Linked DNA regions of Homo sapiens: region 1 is linked to region 2. The links are contacts of gene promoters, found by promoter capture Hi-C in blood cells and fetal thymus (Javierre and others, 2016). All regions are on one chromosome and are shown on one strand. The core of a region is centred on a gene start or on the middle of the fragment in contact, and the rest is flanking DNA. Distances in the headings are between cores, read along the strand shown.

Region 1 (5,720 bases), core at 1-2,500, 540 kb before region 2:
AGCAAAACTATATACAGATATAAAGTAGCAGCTCTGTTGCTGATAGAAGGAACAGTAATGAGGAGCCCTGCAGGTCTTATTCCACTCTTTCTAGCTGCAAGCTTTCTTCCTGGTGGCAGATGACATCATGGATTCATCCCTTACCCGCCGGGGACAGATCTGCTGGTATCAGAAGGTAATGTGGGCAGGAAAATAGCAGTGGGTATGGGGACAGGCCACAGGGAGGTGGTTATATATGGCCTGGTTGAGGTGTTGGGGTGATGGCTCTTAGTATGAACCGAGACTAGAGATTGATTGCTTGTTTTTCTGTCTGTCATGACAGCCGGGCGTGGGTTTGGATGCCATCAATGATGCTAACCTCCTGGAAGCATGTATCTACCGCCTGCTGAAGCTCTATTGCCGGGAGCAGCCCTATTACCTGAACCTGATCGAGCTCTTCCTGCAGGTGTATTGCAGACAGGGCCCGATGCCCAGAGGGTGCCCATGGTAGCCTTGGCCTCTATAGGACATGCTCATCTAGCTGGTTTCAGGGTACAGGATTGCAGCGTGCCTGGAAGGGAAAGAAAGCGAGGAAGGGTGTTGGGAAGTGGGGTTGTGGTAGTGGCAAGAAAGGGCTTCTCTGTCCTGTGTAATTGGAAGAAAGGGTGATAAAGGACTGTGTGTATGAATATGGGCCTTAAGTTTTGGGGCTTTCTCCCCTTCTGTTGCCTTTCTGATTCTGCCCAGTTGTCAGCTGGTATGGGATGTTGGGCTTGGGATACCAGGGTTTCGCATATCTGGAGAAAGCCTGGCTCATGGACCGTCTTTGTCTTGCTTAGAGTTCCTATCAGACTGAGATTGGGCAGACCCTGGACCTCCTCACAGCCCCCCAGGGCAATGTGGATCTTGTCAGATTCACTGAAAAGAGGTGAGGGGAGGTGAGGGACAGCGCGAACCATGTCTGGACAGCGAGGGAGGGCTCAGGATGTGCATTGCCCTCCTGAGGAGTTTCTCTTCTCCCCTTACTCAGGTACAAATCTATTGTCAAGTACAAGACAGCTTTCTACTCCTTCTACCTTCCTATAGCTGCAGCCATGTACATGGTGAGTGAGCCTCCTCACCCCTCTCTGCTCTGCTGATGGGGGCTTTTGGACAGCAAGGCATAGAGCAGAAAACGTGAACACTGCTACCCCTGGTGAAAAACTGTGTGACCTTGAGCAAGTCGGTCTCGCTCAGTCTCTTTCCTCAGCTGGGGATAAAATTCCTACTTCACAGGACTGTAAAGATTAAGCAAGGCAAGGGATATGAAAGTGCTTAGCACATAATAGGGGAACAATATATCCTGTATCTGAGTATGGATAGGAGTGTGGAGATCATCCAGGTTGAGAGGGAGAAGAGTGGATTAAAGACAGTCAGTGGGATTAAGTGTCTACCCTGACCTTGCTTCTCTACATTTCCTTTTCATCTTGAAAGAAGTTGGAGGTGGCAAAAATATTAGGAAGGTGGATCAGAATGACTTGGGGACTGACATTTGTGAGGGAAGAGACAGGCTGTGCACCTCTAGAATGGATTCATCTCTTTTATGACTCCCAGGAAGGCCTAGCCAAAAATAAGTGGGATTGAGGTTGGACCATCAGTCAGGACTGTCTAGGTCAGGGAAGCCAAGATGTCTGAAGAGAGAGGAAAGATTTGGGGCTGCAGTAGGGCAAGACCCCATGGGAGGAAGCAGCCAGGAAGATGCCGGCACCCCTGGGGTTTGGCTTATTAACCCCCCTTTCCCTGCAGGCAGGAATTGATGGCGAGAAGGAGCACGCCAATGCCAAGAAGATCCTGCTGGAGATGGGGGAGTTCTTTCAGATTCAGGTAAGAAGGCAGGAGGCAGTAGCAGAGAACAGGCACCAGCTTCACTCCTCCTCTGCCCAGGAACCTCATCCTTCCTCTTTTGCTGCCCTCCCCCTCCCTGCCCAGGATGATTACCTTGACCTCTTTGGGGACCCCAGTGTGACCGGCAAAATTGGCACTGACATCCAGGACAACAAATGCAGCTGGCTGGTGGTTCAGTGTCTGCAACGGGCCACTCCAGAACAGTACCAGATCCTGAAGGTGCCTGAGAGAGGGTGGTGGGTCCCTGAGTTGGTGGAAAGGGATAGAGCAGTGGTTCTCAACTAGAGGCAGTTTTCCTCCCGAGGGGACATTTGGCAATGTCAGCAGACATTTTTTGCCATTGTCATTACAACTCTGTGTGTGTGCATGTGGTACAGACATCTAGTTGGCAGGAGCCAAAGATGTTGCCAAACATGTAGTACACAGAACAGCTCCCCCAGACAGGATTATCTGGTCCCAAATTTCAATAGTGCCAAGGTGGAGAAACCCTGGAGTAGAGGATGCCTGGTATGAGGCAATATTTGGGATAGGGAAGGGAAGCTTGGGATTTTAGCTACGTAGAGACACTTGAAAATTGGAGGGAGGAAAGGAGTGGGTGGCTTTGGAGATGTTCTGGAATATGTGAATGAGGGGAGTGGAGGGGTCCTGGAGGCTCTGGGGAAGGCCAAGCCCGTTTTCCTGTCTTTCAACCTCTTCCAGGAAAATTACGGGCAGAAGGAGGCTGAGAAAGTGGCCCGGGTGAAGGCGCTATATGAGGAGCTGGATCTGCCAGCAGTGTTCTTGCAATATGAGGAAGACAGTTACAGCCACATTATGGCTCTCATTGAACAGTACGCAGCACCCCTGCCCCCAGCCGTCTTTCTGGGGCTTGCGCGCAAAATCTACAAGCGGAGAAAGTGACCTAGAGATTGCAAGGGCGGGGAGAGGAGGCTCTCAATAAATAATCGTGTAACCTTCTTGTGGTTCTGTTCTTGCTCGGCCCAGCCAGAGTCTGGCTCTTTCCAGAATGTGCAGGGTGGGGTGCTGGGAGGACTCGCTGCACGGAACCAGGACCCAGGGGCCAAAAGCTTAGGATATATCAAACCCTCTAGGTGGGTGACAAAAGACGCTAAACGCTGGGGGCGGGTCTGAGCTACGCCACGCCCATGCGCGAAGGGGTGCAGCTGCGCAGCGCAGGGTAGGTTGTGCTAGTGCCCCTCCCCTCCCGCTCTGTGCCCCGCCGGGCGGGGACCGTGGGAGCCGCGGACAAGCCCAAGGCCGGAGCGGTTCCAGGAGGACCCTGGTGAGGAGGGCTCGGCCCATGGGTGTAGACCGATGGACCTGGGCACGAGGGGCGGGGCAGGACAAGGGAGCAGGAGAAATGAATAGAGAAAGGGTGCGGTGGTGGCTGAACGATGGAGACGAATGCGGAGAGAATGGACATACCGCTGTTCCGAGGGGCGAGGGCGCAGGCTGGAGCCCGGCCGAGGCAGCCAGCAGATGCGGAGTTGACAAGCTGACGGCTGCTCCATCCTTTTCCTCTCCAGCCCCCACCCCTTTCCTGCATTCACCAGACAAACTCTGCGTATTGCCCCACCCCCATCCTCCACCTCCTTTCAGGGCATCTGGGTGGGTCTCCCTGGGTCCCTTCCTCTGGGAGTAAGGGGTAGGCTGGAGGGCAGGGCCAGATTGCGGCAGCAGGGACCTGGAGGTCCATTCTGGGCCCGGACCTCTTCCAGGCCCCCGCCCCCCTTCGGAGATCCAGAGCGCAGCCGCGTTCTCTGACCCTCCCGGCTCCATTCCCGGGGGGTTACATTCGACTCCATCTGCAAACACTGCAGTGGAAACTAATGGTCAGTCGATTGCGATTTGCATCTCATTGAAATATCTTCCAAAGCAGCCAGAGCCTTCAGGCCTGCTGCTGCCGTCAAGTCACCTCGGTGTCCTTCCCCGCAGCTCTTGTCCTCACTGGCCGGGCTTCACCACCTCTGTCTTCTAGGTCTGCACCTGTGGTTGCCAGGTAGGTGGATGTGAGAGACCCTACCCTTCTGGTTCTCTAGAAGCCATCCCATCGCCGCTAGCATCATGCTGTCCCCTCAGAGAGCTTTACTCTGCAACCTCAACCACATCCACCTCCAGCACGTCTCCCTGGGCCTGCACTTGTCCCGCCGTCCTGAGCTACAGGAGGGGCCTTTGAGCACACCCCCTCCTCCAGGAGACACTGGGGGCAAGGAGAGCAGGGGCCCCTGCAGTGGCACCCTGGTGGACGCCAATTCCAACAGCCCAGCTGTGCCCTGCCGGTGCTGCCAGGAGCACGGTCCGGGCCTAGAAAACCGGCAGGACCCGTCACAGGAGGAAGAGGGGGCTGCCTCTCCCTCAGACCCAGGCTGCTCCTCCTCACTCAGCTCCTGCTCAGATCTTAGCCCCGATGAGTCCCCTGTCTCAGTCTACTTGCGGGACCTCCCTGGTGATGAGGATGCCCACCCTCAGCCCAGTATCATCCCCCTGGAGCAGGGCTCCCCACTGGCTTCAGCAGGCCCTGGCACCTGCTCACCGGACAGCTTCTGCTGCTCTCCTGATTCCTGCTCCGGAGCTTCTTCTTCACCCGATCCTGGCCTGGACTCGAACTGCAACGCCCTGACCACCTGCCAGGACGTCCCTTCCCCAGGCTTGGAGGAAGAGGACGAGAGGGCGGAGCAGGATCTCCCTACCTCTGAGCTCTTAGAGGCGGATGATGGGAAAATCGACGCTGGGAAAACGGAGCCCAGTTGGAAGATTAACCCAATTTGGAAAATTGACACAGAGAAAACTAAAGCTGAATGGAAAACCACTGAAAACAATAACACTGGTTGGAAAAACAACGGGAATGTTAACTCTAGCTGGAAAAGTGAACCTGAAAAATTCGACTCTGGTTGGAAAACCAACACAAGAATAACTGATTCTGGCTCGAAAACAGATGCAGGGAAAATTGATGGAGGATGGAGAAGTGACGTCAGCGAGGAGCCGGTGCCCCACCGGACAATCACGTCCTTCCACGAGCTGGCCCAGAAGCGCAAGCGGGGCCCAGGGCTGCCCCTTGTCCCGCAGGCGAAGAAAGATCGCAGTGACTGGCTCATAGTCTTCTCGCCCGACACCGAGCTCCCCCCCTCGGGGTCGCCGGGCGGCTCCTCGGCACCTCCTCGGGAAGTCACCACCTTCAAGGAACTCCGGTCCCGAAGCCGGGCCCCAGCCCCGCCAGTCCCGCCTCGAGACCCCCCAGTTGGCTGGGCTTTGGTCCCGCCCCGGCCCCCACCCCCGCCTGTCCCTCCCCGAAGGAAGAAGAACCGACCTGGACTGCAGCCCATAGCGGAGGGGCAGTCCGAGGAGGGCCGGGCTGTCAGCCCAGCGGCTGGCGAGGAGGCCCCAGCCGCGAAGGAGCCGGGCGCGCAGGCCGGCCTGGAGGGTAAGAGGTCGCAAGAAGCGGGAGGAGGGCTGGGCTTCGGCCGCTCACGCCTCCTAGGCTTCCAACCCGGCCCCCTGTCTTCCCTCCATTCTGTGTCACCCATCCTCCCCGCCCCTTCTACCAGGGAGCGCTCCGGGAAAGGGAAACTGGGTGGGTCATTGGGTTATGGGACTAACTGTTTGCTCCCTCTTCTTCCCGCCCCTTCTTGCCTGGCTGCCCATCCCGCTGCCCTCCTTCCCTCTGCGCCTGGCCCCGCCAATCCCGCCTGCAGCCGGTCCCCTCCTGCTCCCTCGGCCCCTGGTTTTCCGGTTCTCGGCCGACGGGCGCCCCCTGTTGGAGGGTGGGGGCGCAGGCGCAGCTGGGTCTCTGCTCCTGGCTCCTCTGGCCGGGTGGCCCGGCGCCGGGCTGCGGCTGCTGGGGGCGCCGAGCCCCCCAG
Region 2 (5,710 bases), core at 1-2,500:
AGAGGGAGACTCTGTCAAAAAAAAAAAAAAAAAAAAAAAAAAAAGGCATCTTATTACCCAGGAAAACTTTACTGTCATAAATAGATCCAATAATAGAATAAGCCGCCTTGTGTTAGATCACTGGCAATGTTCAAGCGAAGCCTGAATGTCCACTTATCAGAGTACTAGATGAAAGCCTGAACTAGAGAACTGAAAAATAAAAGTTATTTGTAACTCTAAGCGTCTAAGGTTAGATTTCTCTTTCTTCTTTTCTTTCTTTCTCTCTCTCTCTCTTTCTTTCCAGAGACAAGGTCTCGCTCTGTTGCCCAGACCGGAGTGCAGTGGCAAGATCCTAGTTCACTGCAGCCTCAGACTCCTGGGCTCCAGTGACCCTCTGGCCTCGGCCTCCCGAGTAGCTAGGACTACAAGGCACTTGCCACCACCCTCAACGACTTTTTTTCTTTTTTTTTTTTTGTAGAGACGGGGTCTCGATTTGTTACCCAGGCTGGTCTCAAACTCCTGGCCTCAAGCGATCCTCCCGCCCCAGCCTCCCAAAGTGCTAGGATTAGAGGCGTGAGCCACCGCGCCCGACCTACAGTTAGTTTTAAACCTCCCTTCTGTTTCTCCAAGACATTAGGGGAGATTCTCCATCCCCTCAATCAACTGATGTAATTAAAACTCAGTAACTAAAGCTCAATAAAACATGAAGATTTCGTTGATTCCTGTGAGAGATGGTGGTGACCTTATAAGAAATAGAATGGGAGTAGCCAGGGCAGCTCTTTTATTTCACAGATAATTACTGAGATCAAAAAAAGGGGAAAAAAAGAAAAAGAAAGAAAGAAAAAGAAGGAAAGAAAGACAGCTACTTCAGCTCCAGGCACCTCAAACACAGCAGTAGCTCGACAGAATCCACTTTTTTGGGAACCCAAGTCGGACCAGCAGGGTGAATGAATGCCAATGTGGAGGCAGCCCCGGCACGGCCCTCTCCTAGGAAAACATTTTCAAAAGGGGTCCTAACCGCGCTTCCACCTCGGTGCCCAGGGCTGGCTCCAGTCCCCATTCCCAACTAGACACTGGACTTCACGCCCTTAACTTCCGCCACGCACCCAGCGCCCACCCTCAGACCCGACCTTCTCAACCTGGACATCGTTCGTCCAGGTGTCCCAGCTCCCACCTGCCTCTTCCCACCCCACCACACACAAACCTGTACCCTCACCAGCCGGCCTGATTCCACGGAAACGGCTTTGGCACCACCGGAAGTCAGCCAACAACAGCGAATTGCGTGCGCGTCCCCGAGCCTCGGAGCGCCGCGCCGCAGTGCATCAAGGAGCATGCGCCTAACACTATGCGCCATCCCATTTTAGGGCAGAGTGAAGCCACAACGTTAGTGCGTCAGTTATTGGCAAAAAAATTTAAAGGCACTACTTAGCTTTCTCTGCCCATGGAGTTATCCTACTCAAAACTGAGGTTAAGATTCAGTGGTTTAGATTAACAGCTAATTTGGGGGCCAGGCGCGGTGGCTCACGCCTGTAATCCCGGCACCTTGGGAGACGGAGGCGGGCGGATTACCTGAGGTCGGGAGTTCGAGATCACCCTGGCTAACATGGTGAAACCCCGTCTCTACTAAATATACAAAATTAGCTGGGCGTGGTGGCGCACGCCTGTAATCCCAGCTACTCCGGAGGCTGAGGCAGGAGAATCGCTTGAACCCGGGAGACGGAGGTGGCAGTGAGCCGGCATCGTGCCACTGCACTCCAACCTGAGCGACAGTGAGACTCTGTATCAAAAAAAAAAAAAGATTAACAACTAATTTTTCTCACTACGAGTCACCTGGAACACAGGACCAAGGGACTGAAGAAGTCATAAAATGCCAGAAAAAGAAGTCTCTAAATTACAAATAGTGCAGGCTCCTGATTAAAACTAAGGCACTCTTGGACTCAGGCTATAGTAATTATTCATATATGTACAATATTCTGCATTTTACAAAATGCTCTCACATTTTCTTAGGTGACTTGGTCTCCACAATAGACTGTAAGATTATTATATCATATTCCAGTTTGCACAGGACAAAGTTCTGGCTCATCTGAGTAGGTGATTTCACAACGGTACACAGACAGCTATCAAGGAGAATCAGGTATTAAGTCTCCTAACTCTAGCTAATAATGCATTGACCCAGTGTCCAGGAGGCTGCCTGGGGTGTAACAGATGTTCAATAATTCAATACGTGCTTTTTGAATGAGCGAATGAATGAATGACTTCTAAAATGATGTTATTTCCACTTTTCTAGAAAAACAATGTCTGGAATCCACGGAGATTAAAAAAATAATAAAAAACAGAATGTCAAAAGGTGGAAAAATACTTTCAACCCCCTCATTTTACAGGTAAACCACCAACACAAATTTATACATTTGAACTAATCCTATCTGTAAACAGAATCCAACGGATGAAATTATCCACAGCCAAAATGAAGGTTGAAATTTATGCAAACATGGCAGTAGTCTGACTAACCTGAATCACACCAACTCTCCCAAATACCAAGGAAGACTCCAGAAGCTCGGAGTTTCATGTGTGTTGTTCTTTGACCTACAGAATACACAGATCTTTCGGTTTGGCCTCTCTCATACGAAACCCTAAGCACTTGAGGTTCATGAAAAAAATTCAACACTGATTAACTTTGGCACTTTTCATTAGTTGTTTTTTTTTTTTTTTTTAAACAGCTTTGCATACCACAATATCCATCTGTTTTACGTGTACAACCAAATTTTTTTTTTTTTTTTTTTTTCAGACGGAGTCTTGTTCTGTTGCCCAGGCTGGAGTGCAGTGGCGCGATCTCGGTTCACTGCAACCTCCACCTCCTGGGCTCAAGCGATCCTCGTGTCTCAGCCTCCCAAGTAGCGTGTGCCACCACGCCCGGCTAATCTTTGTATTTTTAGTAGAGATGGGGGTTTCACCATGCTGGCCAGGCTGGTCTCGAACTCCTGACCTCAAGTGATCTGCCCGCCTTGGCCTCCCAAAGGTTTGGGATTACAGGCATGAGCCACCGTGCCCGGCTGTTTTTTTAAAATTAGTAAATGTTCAGAGTTGTGCAACCATCCCCAGGTTTGGTCTTTCATCAGAGTTTCTGAGGTTTAAGACAGTTTCCATCCACTGTGAAATATAAGCCAAAAAAAAAAGTTCTGTAATAACCTTTAGCGGTCTCAGAAATGCATAATGATGGCAGTCGATACTGAAATCCAGGCAGTACAGAATTTTATTTTCCCAAAATTCTGGAACTCAGGACCGAGAACATTTTGCTGCTGTATTAAAGCCCAGAAAACTGAAATCAGAGGATTTCATATAATAATCTACCTATGCTTCTTACCCTTCAGTACTTTCTCGTTTTGGAACCACAGCGCGTCAGTGGGCGCGGCCTCATTCTCGGGAAAACTCGGCGGTGGGAGGAGTCCCCTCCGGGAGAGCTTCCTGAAGGGGGCGAGGGCTGACTTCCGTAATCTTTCGGAAGAGGCGGAGTCTTCTTCCGAGGACCATTCGGAAGAGGCGGAGTCTTCTTCCGAGGACCATTCGGAAGAAGGCGGAGCCTACCTCTCATCAGGACCAGTCTGACTGCACCTGCATCCTTAGCTCAGCGCATCCCCGGAGCATCTTAAGAGCTGAGCGCAGCTGACAACTAGGGGCCGGACCGTCGCAGGAGGCGTCCGCTGGATACCTTCCCCCTTCCCTGACCTAGAGCTCTACAGCTGCTGCCTCGGTACTGACCGAGGGTTCCCAGAGCTGTCTCACCATTGCAAAAACGTTATAGCAACAGCCTCTGATTACGACATGGCTGAGATCACCAATATCCGACCTAGCTTTGGTAAGTAGACTCGGGAAAACTAAGCTTGAGGTGGTCAGAATGGTTGCAAGGCCAAGGGGGCCCAGCGGCAGGGCAGAGAATGCAGCCCAGACCAGAGCCTTCAAAATGCCAGCCCCACTAAAATCGGGCCTGTGGTGGTGGGTAGTGGGTAGTGGGCAGTTGACAGTGCATGAACTTGAGCTATGGGCTGCAGGGACTGGCAGGGCCTGAGCCACACCGAGGGTGGGGAAGTCCAGGATGCTAAAACCTTGTATGGTGCACTGTCAGCACTGCTGGAGGTGAGAAACAGCAAGCGTGCGGAGGATGTGAACCCCTCCTTCTGGGGGAGGAGAGGTGGGGTAGGCCAAGCCCTCCCCCTTGGGGCACACAGGGCGGTGCCCCTTCCTCCCCCTCCCATTCCTAAGGGCTGCGGGGGAGGGAAGTGACAAGGGGGATGGGGCATCAAGATGGCAGCTTGGAGACTGTGGGCCGTGTGGCTGGCAGCCAGGGGAGGCGGCGGCCTCTGGGGAAAGAGGGGTGCGGGGTGGGGAGCAAAAAGGAAGCCACTCCTTAAGCCGGTCAGCTGGATGCTGGGGCTAGGAGGAAACGTGAGCCCTGCAAGCTCCATTCCGCATCGTAATGGTGGGGTCCCTCCGATGCTACCAAATGGCGCTTGGCGCTGCTGGGCTGGGGGATGACGTGATGTCTATTTCTGGGCCTCCTGGCAGCGCCGACGCTCTCCTTCCGGGGCCTTTGTTCCCTGTTTCCCTGGGCCGCCTTTTCAAAAAGGGGGACTGACCAGCGTTGATGCTGGCGGGGGCGCGATCCAGGCCGGAGGGGGAGGGGCGAAAGAGGCCCAGCCCGGGGGAGGCCGCTTTGTGTACCGCAGAAAGCATTACGTCATTTCAGAGCGGCTGGTCCCCGACCCAGCCCTGTGGGCTCCAAGATTAGTTTTACACTCTCTGGAGCAGAAAGTGGAGTGGAAAATAGGGAAGAAGGTGGCAAAGACAAGCTTGAGAAGGAAGTTTTTTCCTCTTTGGGGACTCCTGCAGTATATGCTAAAGGAGCAAACTTCCTGTGTTATGCTTTCCTGATCAAATAAATAAAATATAATTGCCCTGCTTCTCCTTGATTCAGTTTAGATGGGGGAAGCCAGTGAGAGTTGCTGCCAAAGAACCTTCTTATTCCTTCAGGGATTCTATCCCTCAGACAATCCAGTAGGTTTGAGCATCGGGACTCCAGTTTTTAGGGTGGAGACACAATCCAGCTAGGAAATGGCTTTTCTCATTCCTGAATAAGAGGTACAGTGAAATGAGCAGAATCCAGTGTGCTCTATCCCCTCAGAATAAGGAAGAAGAAATCAAATCAGATGTGTTCAGATAACTGATCTTCACACTCATTAACTACTTGTTCTCACTTATTCCACAAGGCTAAATCTTGATGGTATTTTTTCTTCCACTTCACCTTCCGCATCTTTATTCTTTGAGTTCTAAGTTTCCAAAACAAAAGTCCCTTTCATGATCACATGAGCAATCCATGATTTCTTCCTGTTCTTTTTCTTCTTATTCCCTTCCAACAGATTCCTTTCTCTAACTGCAGTTCCAGAATCCTTGAAAAAAGGAGATGGTGTGGAACATAATATAGTGATTTCTCTTAGAGGGACTATTATTGGGAAAGGGAAAATAAATTATATCAGCCTGTTACATACTACATTTTATTTAATCCTAACAAATACCCTCGAGTGTATGTATTATTATATATACTTGCCAGACAAGGAAACCAAAGCTCAGAAATAAAATAACTTGGCTAAAGCCAAACAAATGACTAAAGGTAGCACTAGTTTGTTTTTGTTTTTGTTTTTGAGACGGAGTTTCGATCTTGTTGCCCAGGTTGGAGTGC

The links. Contacts are between HindIII fragments. The CHiCAGO score rates a contact against its expected background, and 5 or more counts as called.
Region 1: a fragment that was not itself captured here is called in contact with the fragment with the promoter of GON4L in region 2 in 1 of 17 cell types (naive B cells); the score reaches 5.4 in naive B cells.

What each region holds. Positions count from the first base shown.
Region 1 is chr1:155,317,847-155,323,566 of GRCh38, forward strand. It overlaps FDPS (farnesyl diphosphate synthase), which reads left to right. Exons shown (of 11, transcript NM_002004.4): 5 at 95-175; 6 at 323-445; 7 at 819-907; 8 at 1,010-1,082; 9 at 1,765-1,842; 10 at 1,948-2,082; 11 at 2,563-2,819. The coding sequence ends at 2,763. RUSC1-AS1 (RUSC1 antisense RNA 1) reads right to left here. Exons shown (of 6, transcript NR_145424.1): 2 at 4,397-4,591; 3 at 3,779-3,849; 4 at 1,957-2,086; 5 at 419-550; 6 at 1-159. RUSC1 (RUN and SH3 domain containing 1) reads left to right here and starts at 3,048. Exons shown (of 10, transcript NM_001105203.2): 1 at 3,048-3,145; 2 at 3,842-5,284. The coding sequence starts at 3,928. RefSeq lists silencers at 2,990-3,139, 5,120-5,359, 5,650-5,720 and an enhancer at 3,755-4,738. The HindIII fragment of the contact is 2,302 bases long and covers 100-2,401 here.
Region 2 is chr1:155,855,964-155,861,673 of GRCh38, forward strand. GON4L (gon-4 like) reads right to left here and starts at 1,251. Exons shown (of 32, transcript NM_001282860.2): 1 at 1,184-1,251. It overlaps SYT11 (synaptotagmin 11), which reads left to right and starts at 3,604. Exons shown (of 4, transcript NM_152280.5): 1 at 3,604-3,832. The coding sequence starts at 3,799. RefSeq lists enhancers at 1,131-1,330, 1,617-2,204, 3,445-3,554, 3,745-3,844. The HindIII fragment of the contact is 10,340 bases long and covers 1-3,854 here.